3 separate regions of the Homo sapiens genome follow, and regions 1 and 2 are each linked to region 3. Evidence: promoter capture Hi-C in human tissues and cell types (Jung and others, 2019). All regions are on one chromosome and are shown on one strand. Each heading gives the region's core, a stretch centred on a gene start or on the middle of the fragment in contact. The rest is flanking DNA. Distances are from core to core; before and after follow the strand shown.

Evidence for each region. The method cuts DNA at HindIII sites, captures the fragments that hold promoters and counts their contacts. A contact is called where the count stands out against the background at its distance.
Region 1: a contact is called between the fragment with the promoter of IFITM5 here and the fragment with the promoter of POLR2L in region 3, in 1 of the 25 tissues and cell types used here (heart left ventricle).
Region 2: a fragment that was not itself captured here is called in contact with the fragment with the promoter of POLR2L in region 3 in 1 of the 25 tissues and cell types used here (lymphoblastoid cells).

What each region holds. Positions count from the first base shown.
Region 1 is chr11:298,023-300,795 of GRCh38, forward strand. It overlaps IFITM5 (interferon induced transmembrane protein 5), which reads right to left and starts at 1,504. Exons shown (of 2, transcript NM_001025295.3): 1 at 1,283-1,504; 2 at 178-691. The coding sequence starts at 1,468. The coding sequence ends at 479. RefSeq lists an enhancer at 675-834. The HindIII fragment of the contact is 20,921 bases long and covers 1-2,773 here.
Region 2 is chr11:213,597-216,376 of GRCh38, forward strand. RIC8A (RIC8 guanine nucleotide exchange factor A) reads left to right here. Exons shown (of 10, transcript NM_001286134.2): 10 at 634-1,517. The coding sequence ends at 754. SIRT3 (sirtuin 3) reads right to left here. Exons shown (of 7, transcript NM_012239.6): 7 at 1,434-2,780. Among named protein-coding and RNA genes, the nearest start is that of MIR6743, 5.7 kb to the left of the region's middle. The HindIII fragment of the contact is 6,100 bases long and covers 1-2,780 here.
Region 3 is chr11:840,906-843,788 of GRCh38, forward strand. It overlaps POLR2L (RNA polymerase II, I and III subunit L), which reads right to left and starts at 1,624. Exons shown (of 2, transcript NM_021128.5): 1 at 1,509-1,624. The coding sequence starts at 1,603. It overlaps TSPAN4 (tetraspanin 4), which reads left to right and starts at 1,947. Exons shown (of 9, transcript NM_003271.5): 1 at 1,947-2,010. RefSeq lists enhancers at 1-627, 628-1,373, 1,374-2,117 and silencers at 1,386-2,015, 2,126-2,215, 2,236-2,465, 2,451-2,619. The HindIII fragment of the contact is 28,886 bases long and covers 1-2,883 here.

The DNA of each region.
Region 1 (2,773 bases), core at 254-2,753, 540 kb before region 3:
AAGCCACAGGCCGCCCAGTGGCTGAGAGAAGGGGACAGTTGGGGCCAAGCAGGGCTGCTGAGCTGCGGGGGGCGCTCCCGCCACTGACTCTGGGGGCTGGCCCTGTGGCATTTGGCTTTGGTGGTCCCTAGGGCAGCTCCTTCCCCCACGCTAGGCAGGAAAGAGGCCAGGAGGCACTTTCTGGAACCAGGCACTTTTAATCGTGGAACCGAGGGGCCTGGAGTGTGAGGAGGGAGGGGCAGGATCGGGGGCAGAGTTAGGGCCCGGGAACTCTCGGGTTAGGGTGAAGACCCCGGGGTCTGACTGGTTCAGCCTTAGGTGCCCATGTTGGGGCTGGAGGGCCCCAGGATCAGGATGGGGCAGGGATGGAGGCCCCACAGAAGGAGGGCCAGGCTCCGGGGAGTCAGTATTGGGCCCCAGGGGCAGCAGCCTGGGGTCAGTGTCCTGGGGCTAGTGCCCCAGATCAGGACCCAGCCTGTCAGTCATAGTCCGCGTCATCAAACTTGGTGCTGAAGAAGGCGGCAGAGTCCTTGGCCAGCCGGGCCAGGTGCAGGGCACCAGTCACCACCAGCCCCAGGAGCAGCAGTGGCGGCACCAGCGTCCACATCGCGGCCAGGATGTTGTAGCACTTGGCTTTGGAGCCAAAACGCCGGGCCGCTTCCAGGTCACCAACCACCTTCTGATCTCGGGCCTGCAGAGAGACCAGACCACAGGGCCAGATCTCTATGTGTCCTCGGGGCCTGGGGGCCCTTCCCCACCCACACCCTGGGCACCTGGAAGGCCCCTACTGCACCCAAAATCTGGATGGAGGGGTGTGGCCTGAGGAGATACTCCTTGGGGCCCCAGCTATGGACCCGGGGGCCATCCCAGGCCAGTGTCAGCCTATCAGAGCTCTCTATGGGTGAGGGTCCCCCAGGGTGCTGAGACACCCCCCACCCTGCCAGCCAGGAGCTGAAGTCAAAGGGACCTCTGTTCCAGAAGCCCACAGCATGTGAACCCCCTCTTGATTGCAGAGACCTCTGTGGGTGCCTCCCAATGGCCTCTGTGCTCTTGGATGGGCCAGACCCCGTTAAGAAGAGGCCCCCCGGCCTTGCCTTCGTGAGGAGCTCTTTCCCGGCCATACTGATAGCTGTGCCCACAGAGCCCCTCACGGACAAGCAGAGCCCCCCGCGGCCCCCAGCACGGCAAGGACCCCCCACGGAGCTCCCCATCCCTCCCCCTTCCCCCCACCTTGATGGAGTAGTGGAGCCTCCCCCGCAACCTCGGTAGGGCCCCTGCCCACCTTGATGGAGTAGGCCAGCGCCAGGAAGCCGAGGCAACACAGATTCAGGTAGAGGGTGCTGAACACCGACCAGATCAAGTGGTCTCGAGGCGGGGGGTGCGGGGCCCCCAGTGTGAGGGCTGTGTGGGCACCGGCCTTGCTGGGCGTGGGGGCCCGGGTGTCCTCGCGGGGATACGCCGTGTCCATGGGTTCCAGCGCCGTCTCTTCCACACTCAGACTGGTGCTGGGAGGGTGGGCACCCGCTCACTTATAGCCCTGTCGCCCTCCCGGCCCAGCCCCTCAACGCTATATATAACACAAATTACAGCCTGCGGGCCGAGGGTGCGGCCCGCCCCTTAGCCCCCACCCCAGGGAGCCCCTGTCCGAGGCTGCCTTGGACCACCCAGCAGGGTCCCTCCTGACAGACATCCCATCTGGGAGCCCCCCGCTTGGAAGGCTACGGCCGGGCAGTGGCAGAGACCCCCACCCATCCCCCCACCCCCATCAAAGGCTGCTGGCCAAGTGGGCAGTGGGCAGACCACTGGCCAGAGCCCCCTCCGTCCAGGCCAAGAAGAGTTGGAGGTGTCGCCTCAGGGCCATGGGCCTCATAATTCAGGGATGTACAGGAGCCCCCTCCTCAGAACCAGAGCTGCTGAAACTGCAGCCCCTTCATTCCCAGAACTCAACTCTGCCCCTAACACTCTCAGAGCACCAGCGCCAGGCCCTAGGAGCGCAGGCATCCCTGCAAGGGGGACAGGGAGGGCGGCTGTCGGAGGAGGGCGCGAGAGAGAAGGAGAGAACCACATGGGGGGAAAGCCAGGGGGTGCAGCCTGTTAGGAGCCGGCAGGGGAACCCCCAGGGACCAGCAACAGCTGTTAACACTGGTGTCGGGATGCAGGGAGCCTGTGGGCTCCTGTGGTGGACACTCCCCTCAGCCTCCTCGGCTGCCCTCCCTGATCCCAGAATGTCTGTGGTGAGTGGTCCTGTTTAGGGCTCAAGGTCCGCCCCAGTCTTGTCTCTGGCTGTAGATGCCTGTGTGTGCTGACGACTCACATTTATGTCTTCAGCCCAGACTTCCCCCCAAAGACATTGGCTTGGTCCCCAGCTCTGGACACACACACGCAACTCCTGCTCTGTGGACCTCCACCCACGTGCCAACAATAGACCCTGGATCCTCCCTCCCAACCTCCTCTGCCAAGCCTTCCCCGGAGCAGTGGTGGCAACTGCACCGGGCCAGAAGGCTCAGCTTCCCCGTCTCCCAGTCGGCCACACTCCTGAGTGCCCAGGACCAAGCTGCCCTCCCTCCTCCAGGACGCACACTCGCCACCTGCAGGGGATGGTTGGGTGGGGGGTTCCTTGCTGCTGTGCTTGAGCCTGTGAACCCCAAATATCTGAGACAGGTCTCGGTTAATTTAGATTATTTTGCCAAGATTGAGGATGTGCCTGTGACAGCCTCTGGAGCTCCTGAGGATCTGTACCCAAGGTGGTCGGAGCACAGTTTGGTTTTATACA
Region 2 (2,780 bases), core at 111-2,610, 630 kb before region 3:
GAGATCAGTATTGTGCCCCTTTTACAGATGATAACTGAGGCCCAGAGAAATTAAGAGACTGTCTAAGGCCGGGCGTGGTAGCTCACGCCTATAATCCCAGCACTTTGGGAGACTGAGGCAGGTAGATCACAAGGTCAGGAGATCGAGACCATCCTGGCCAACATGGTGAAACCCCATCTCTGCTAAAATACAAAAAAAAAGTTAGCTGGGCGTGGTGGTGGGCGCCTGTAGTCCCAGCTGCTCGGGAGGTTGAGGCAGGGGAATCACTTGAACCCAGGAGGCAGAGCTTGCAGTGAGCTGACATTGTGCCACCGCACTCCAGCCTGGCAACAGAGTGAGACTTCGTCTCAAAAAAAAAAAAGAGACTAATGTCGCCAGATTTATTGGAGATGGCCCAGTGTCCAAATTAAGAGCCTGCTTAAGGCCAATTTAGATGTTTAAAATAGGAAACTGCTTAAAGCCAGGAGGCAGCAGTTAGGGTTTGGGCCCAGTTAACAGAAGGTCCAACCAGGCTTCCCCAGTAAATGGGAGCAGCCTACTTGGTAGAGAGGAAGGTAGCAGCCACGGGTGAGTAGGACCCCTGCCTGGCCAACTGGGCCCCTTCCCCAGCCCCACTGCACCTTTCCCCAACAGGAACAGAGTCATCCAGCCAATGGGGATGAGTCCCCGGGGTCATCTTACGTCCCTGCAGGATGCCATGTGCGAGACTATGGAGCAGCAGCTCTCCTCGGACCCTGACTCGGACCCTGACTGAGGATGGCAGCTCTTCTGCTCCCCCATCAGGACTGGTGCTGCTTCCAGAGACTTCCTTGGGGTTGCAACCTGGGGAAGCCACATCCCACTGGATCCACACCCGCCCCCACTTCTCCATCTTAGAAACCCCTTCTCTTGACTCCCGTTCTGTTCATGATTTGCCTCTGGTCCAGTTTCTCATCTCTGGACTGCAACGGTCTTCTTGTGCTAGAACTCAGGCTCAGCCTCGAATTCCACAGACGAAGTACTTTCTTTTGTCTGCGCCAAGAGGAATGTGTTCAGAAGCTGCTGCCTGAGGGCAGGGCCTACCTGGGCACACAGAAGAGCATATGGGAGGGCAGGGGTTTGGGTGTGGGTGCACACAAAGCAAGCACCATCTGGGATTGGCACACTGGCAGAGCCAGTGTGTTGGGGTATGTGCTGCACTTCCCAGGGAGAAAACCTGTCAGAACTTTCCATACGAGTATATCAGAACACACCCTTCCAAGGTATGTATGCTCTGTTGTTCCTGTCCTGTCTTCACTGAGCGCAGGGCTGGAGGCCTCTTAGACATTCTCCTTGGTCCTCGTTCAGCTGCCCACTGTAGTATCCACAGTGCCCGAGTTCTCGCTGGTTTTGGCAATTAAACCTCCTTCCTACTGGTTTAGACTACACTTACAACAAGGAAAATGCCCCTCGTGTGACCATAGATTGAGATTTATACCACATACCACACATAGCCACAGAAACATCATCTTGAAATAAAGAAGAGTTTTGGACAAAAATGTATGTGTAAATTATCAAATAAAGGGGCCAGGCACAGTGGCTCATGCCTGTAATCCCAGCACTTTGGGAGGCCGAGGTGGGTGGATCACTTGAAGCCAGGAGTTCGAGACCAGCCTGGCCAACATAGCAAAACCTTGTCTCTATTACAAATATGCCCATGTGCTAGGTGTGGTGGGACACACCTGTAATCCCAGCTACCCAGGAGAATCGCTTAAACCCGGGAGGCGGAAGTTGCAGTGAGCTGAGATCATAACACCGCACTCCACCCTGAGTGACAGGGCAAGACTCAAAAAATAAAAAAGGAACATTAACTAGGGTTAGAAACTAACTTCATTCTTTTTAGAATTCAACAGTTTTCCTAGGTCACCAATTCCACCTTTTGTTCTTATTAAGGCGCAAAGTCACAGGACCCCCTTCCTGGGAGTCACTGTCATTAAATCTATTGCCGTCAGCTCAGCCCAGGGTAGGCAAGGTTCAAGAATGGGAAGTGCTTTTGTCTGGGGAAACACGCAGGTAATGTGATGCTAGGAAGGAGGATGTGCAGGTGGGTGAGAGCCCAGGAGGGAGCAGCTGGTGCCTGACAGGGTGAGCCATCAGGGCTGGGCCTGGGTACAGCCCCAGGAGAAGGAGCCTGTGCAGAAGTAGCAGTTCAGTGGATTCCACCTCCTATGTCACAATCCAGCAGGTGGCCAGGACTCAGCCTGGGTTTTAAGTGAGTAATGCCTTCCCTGTCTCAGAGATTAGCTCTAACAGTGTCACTAGAGGAAGCCCTGGCGAGGGTGGGGGGGCGTAGTGTGGGGACAAGGAGGCCAGATAGAAAGTGCTGGAATGTTCTGGAACAGATCTGTTTCTGGAGGAGAGGCTGAGTATGGAGAGTCAACAGAATGTGACCACCTTCAGAGGGAGGAGCTGGGCCGTCTCCAATAAATCCAGGGACAAATGCCTTCAGTCCTCAGACTGTTCCAATAGAGGGGACGCCACGTATCCCAGGGTTCCCTTTCCAACTCATGTCAACACCTGCAGTCCCTTTGAGGAGACTAAATGTATTTCATGCTGGAAAGAACAGATTTTCTCTCATTAAAAATAGCCCCACTAAAGGAGACCAACATGCTAGAAGTGCGGCACCAGGGCCTCAAGACTACACTTCGGAACATGAAGAGGGCTGGGGACCGCTCGGCCCAAGTCTGGATCTTGTAACCAACAGATGCCGAGCTTGCCGTTCAACTAGGCACAGAAAGCAGACTCGGTCTGGGATTCCAGTT
Region 3 (2,883 bases), core at 374-2,873:
AAGCCCTGCTCTGCCGCTGTGGGGTCTTTCCTCACCTCTGCTTCCTTCCATCAGAGAGAGACTGCTTCTCCACGGAGCCACCTCTCCCACTTCCCAAGCCAATTAGAAGCTTTCATTTCCCTGGGACCTAGCTCCAGTCACCCTCAAGACCTCCAGAAAACTCCCACACCGATGGCTCCAATGTGCAGAGACACAGAAGCTTGGGAAAGGGGAGGCCACATGGGAGGCCCCTGCCGTTCCTATCCGGGGAAAGGGTCTGGACAGGCCGCCAGCCACTCAGTCTAGCAGCCCACTCGCTTTCCTCGTTTGTCCAGCAAGCTGCACCAAGTGCCGATGGCAGGCTGGCGCACACAAGCCCAGGGCTTCACATGTGACGAAGACTCAGTGGGCGAGGGTCAGACTCCAGCGGGGGCACCAAGACTCAGGCACCGTGGTGACAGCAGCACCAAGGGACAAGCACAGGAGAAAGACGCCTCCCCTACAAAGCCTGATGAGGGTGGTCAGCAAGTCTACCCTGCATTTCTTTTTCTGTGTGTGTGTGTGCGTGAGACGGAGTTTCACTCTCTCTTCCAGGCTGGAGTGCAGTGGCGTGATCTTGGCTCACTGCAACCTCCACCTGCCTCCCAGACTCAAGCGATTTTCTCGTCTCAGCCTCCCAAGTAGCTGGGACCACAGGTGTGCACCGCCATGTCCGGCGAATTAAAAAGATAGAGCCAGGCGCGGTGGCTCACGCCTGTAACCTCAGCACTTTGGGAGGTCGAGGCGGGTGGATCACCTGAGGTCAGGAGTTCCAGACCAGCCTGGCCAACATGGCGAAATCCCATCTCTACTGAAAATACAAAAATTAGCCGGGCGTGGTGGCACACGCCTGTAGTCCCAGCTACTCGGGAGGCTGAGACAGGAGAATTGCTGGAGCCCAGGAGGCGGGGGTTGCAGTGAGCCGAGATCGCGCCACTGCACTCCAACCTGGGCGACGGAGCGAGACTCCGTCTCAAAAAAGAAAAATAAAATAAAATAAATTTCTGGAGATCAGGGTCTCCCCAGGTTGTCCAGGCTGGTCTCGACCTCCTGGGCTCAAGCAAGCCTCTCGCCTCGGCCTCCCAAACTGCTGGGATTACAGATGTCAGCCGCCGCGCCCGCCCGTCCTGCAGCGAGGTTTGCAGGACATGGGGTGGGCCTGGGGGCAGAGATGGGAATAGGGCGGAGGCCAAGGGCTTTACTGCGGGTGACAAGACGCCTGCGACCCGCCAGGCCACCTAGAATCCCCAGGACACCACTGGTTTGAAGCCCAACTCCGTTCTCTTCCCCAGACTTCAGGGGATAAGGTTCTCCCGAAAGCAGATCACAGAGCGGGGCTGGAGAAGCCGGGCCTGAAGCTGCTCATGGGGCGCTGGCCTCAGGCAGCGCTGCGCCTCCCGCCCCGGCGCGCACCCCAGGGCGGACTCAGCCCCCAGCCCCGGCCCGCGCCCCACGGCGGACTCAGCCCCTAGCCCCGGCCCGCGCCTCACCCCTCGGTGTACTCGGCCTGCAGCAGCCCCAGGTAAGCCTCCCACTTGTTGCCGACGATCTTGCCACAAGTGAAGCAGCGTACAGGGATGATCATGGCGGCGGCGCGTCCCAGACTGCCCGGCCCGGCCCGGCCGCACGCGAAGAACCCCCCCAGGCCCCGCCCCGGGCGCGTCCACTGTTGCGGGAGAATCGGCTCCGCTCGTTCTCCGCTGTTCCGGCCGTCCCTCCACCGGCCCCGCCACCGCTGGCCGCAGTTTCCGCCGCGATAGGGGCTTCCCGTGCGTCCCGGGGCTCCTGGGCCTGTGCGTCCCGGGGCTCCCGGGCCCGCGCGGCCGCGGCAGCAGCAGACCGCACACCCCCGCCCACCGTCTTGGTGCATCCCGGCGCTACGGCGTCTGAGCAGGGCCGTAAAGCTGCGGCGGCGGTTCGCGTTTCTCGTGTCCGCTTGACTGACAGCTGCGCGGCGGGAGCGGGCGGCGCGAGCGGGAGGCGGCGGCGCAGGTACTGCGCCTGGGGGTTGTGGGGGCGTGCGGCCAGGGTCCCGTGGCCGGAGGTGTCCGACCGGGAGCGGCTGGAGCCGGACGCGAGCGGGGCGCGCGAGTTCGAGCCCAGAGCCGACACGCAGCAACAAGTGGGGTCCGGCGCGGGGGCTCGGGGAGAGGGCGGGCGGGGGCCGGGGCGGGTCTTCCTGCCGCCCCTCCTGGCCGCGCCGAGTAGTGGGTTCCTCCGCCTCGGCCTCTGCCCGCGGGGTGTCCGGGGCTCTCGGCGCTGAGTTCGGGGGTCCCATTCTGGACGCGGCCCAGCCCCTAGGGGCGCCGCCCTGGCCTCAGCTGCGCAATTACAGCCCCCGCCGGCAGCTCCCCGCCCCGGGCTCCTGTCCGCGTTCTTTCCGCTCTTTCCCGGGAATGGGGTCGGGGTGCGCCCTCCCGGGTCCCGGCTCTGCTGGCTGCTCGCCGTCCCGAGCTCCCGACGCTCAGACGCGCCTCTGAGCACGGGGAGAGGGGACCCGGGAGGGAGGTCGGGGAGGGAGTCGTGGAAGAGGTGCTTTTTGAGCTGAACCTGGAAGACCCCGGCACAGGGGATCCCTGGGCAGACTCCCGGAGGCTGCACTGGCAGGACCCCCTGAAGGCCTCAGCTCTGGCTTGCCCTGGAGCTCAGGGCCTACGGACGACGAGGGACGAGGAGCCCGTGTCTCTCGGATGGAGTGCGGGGGGGCTGGCACCAGCACCCTTCTTGCTGTGCCCCTGGGGTGGGGGTGAGGAAATGGGGGGTCGGTGTGCAGTGAGAGGCAAAGAAGGCTCCTTGGAGGTGCGAGGTGGGCTGTGGGGGTGGGTGGGCCGCAAAGCGGCACCCATGGGGGGCTCTGGGCTGGTT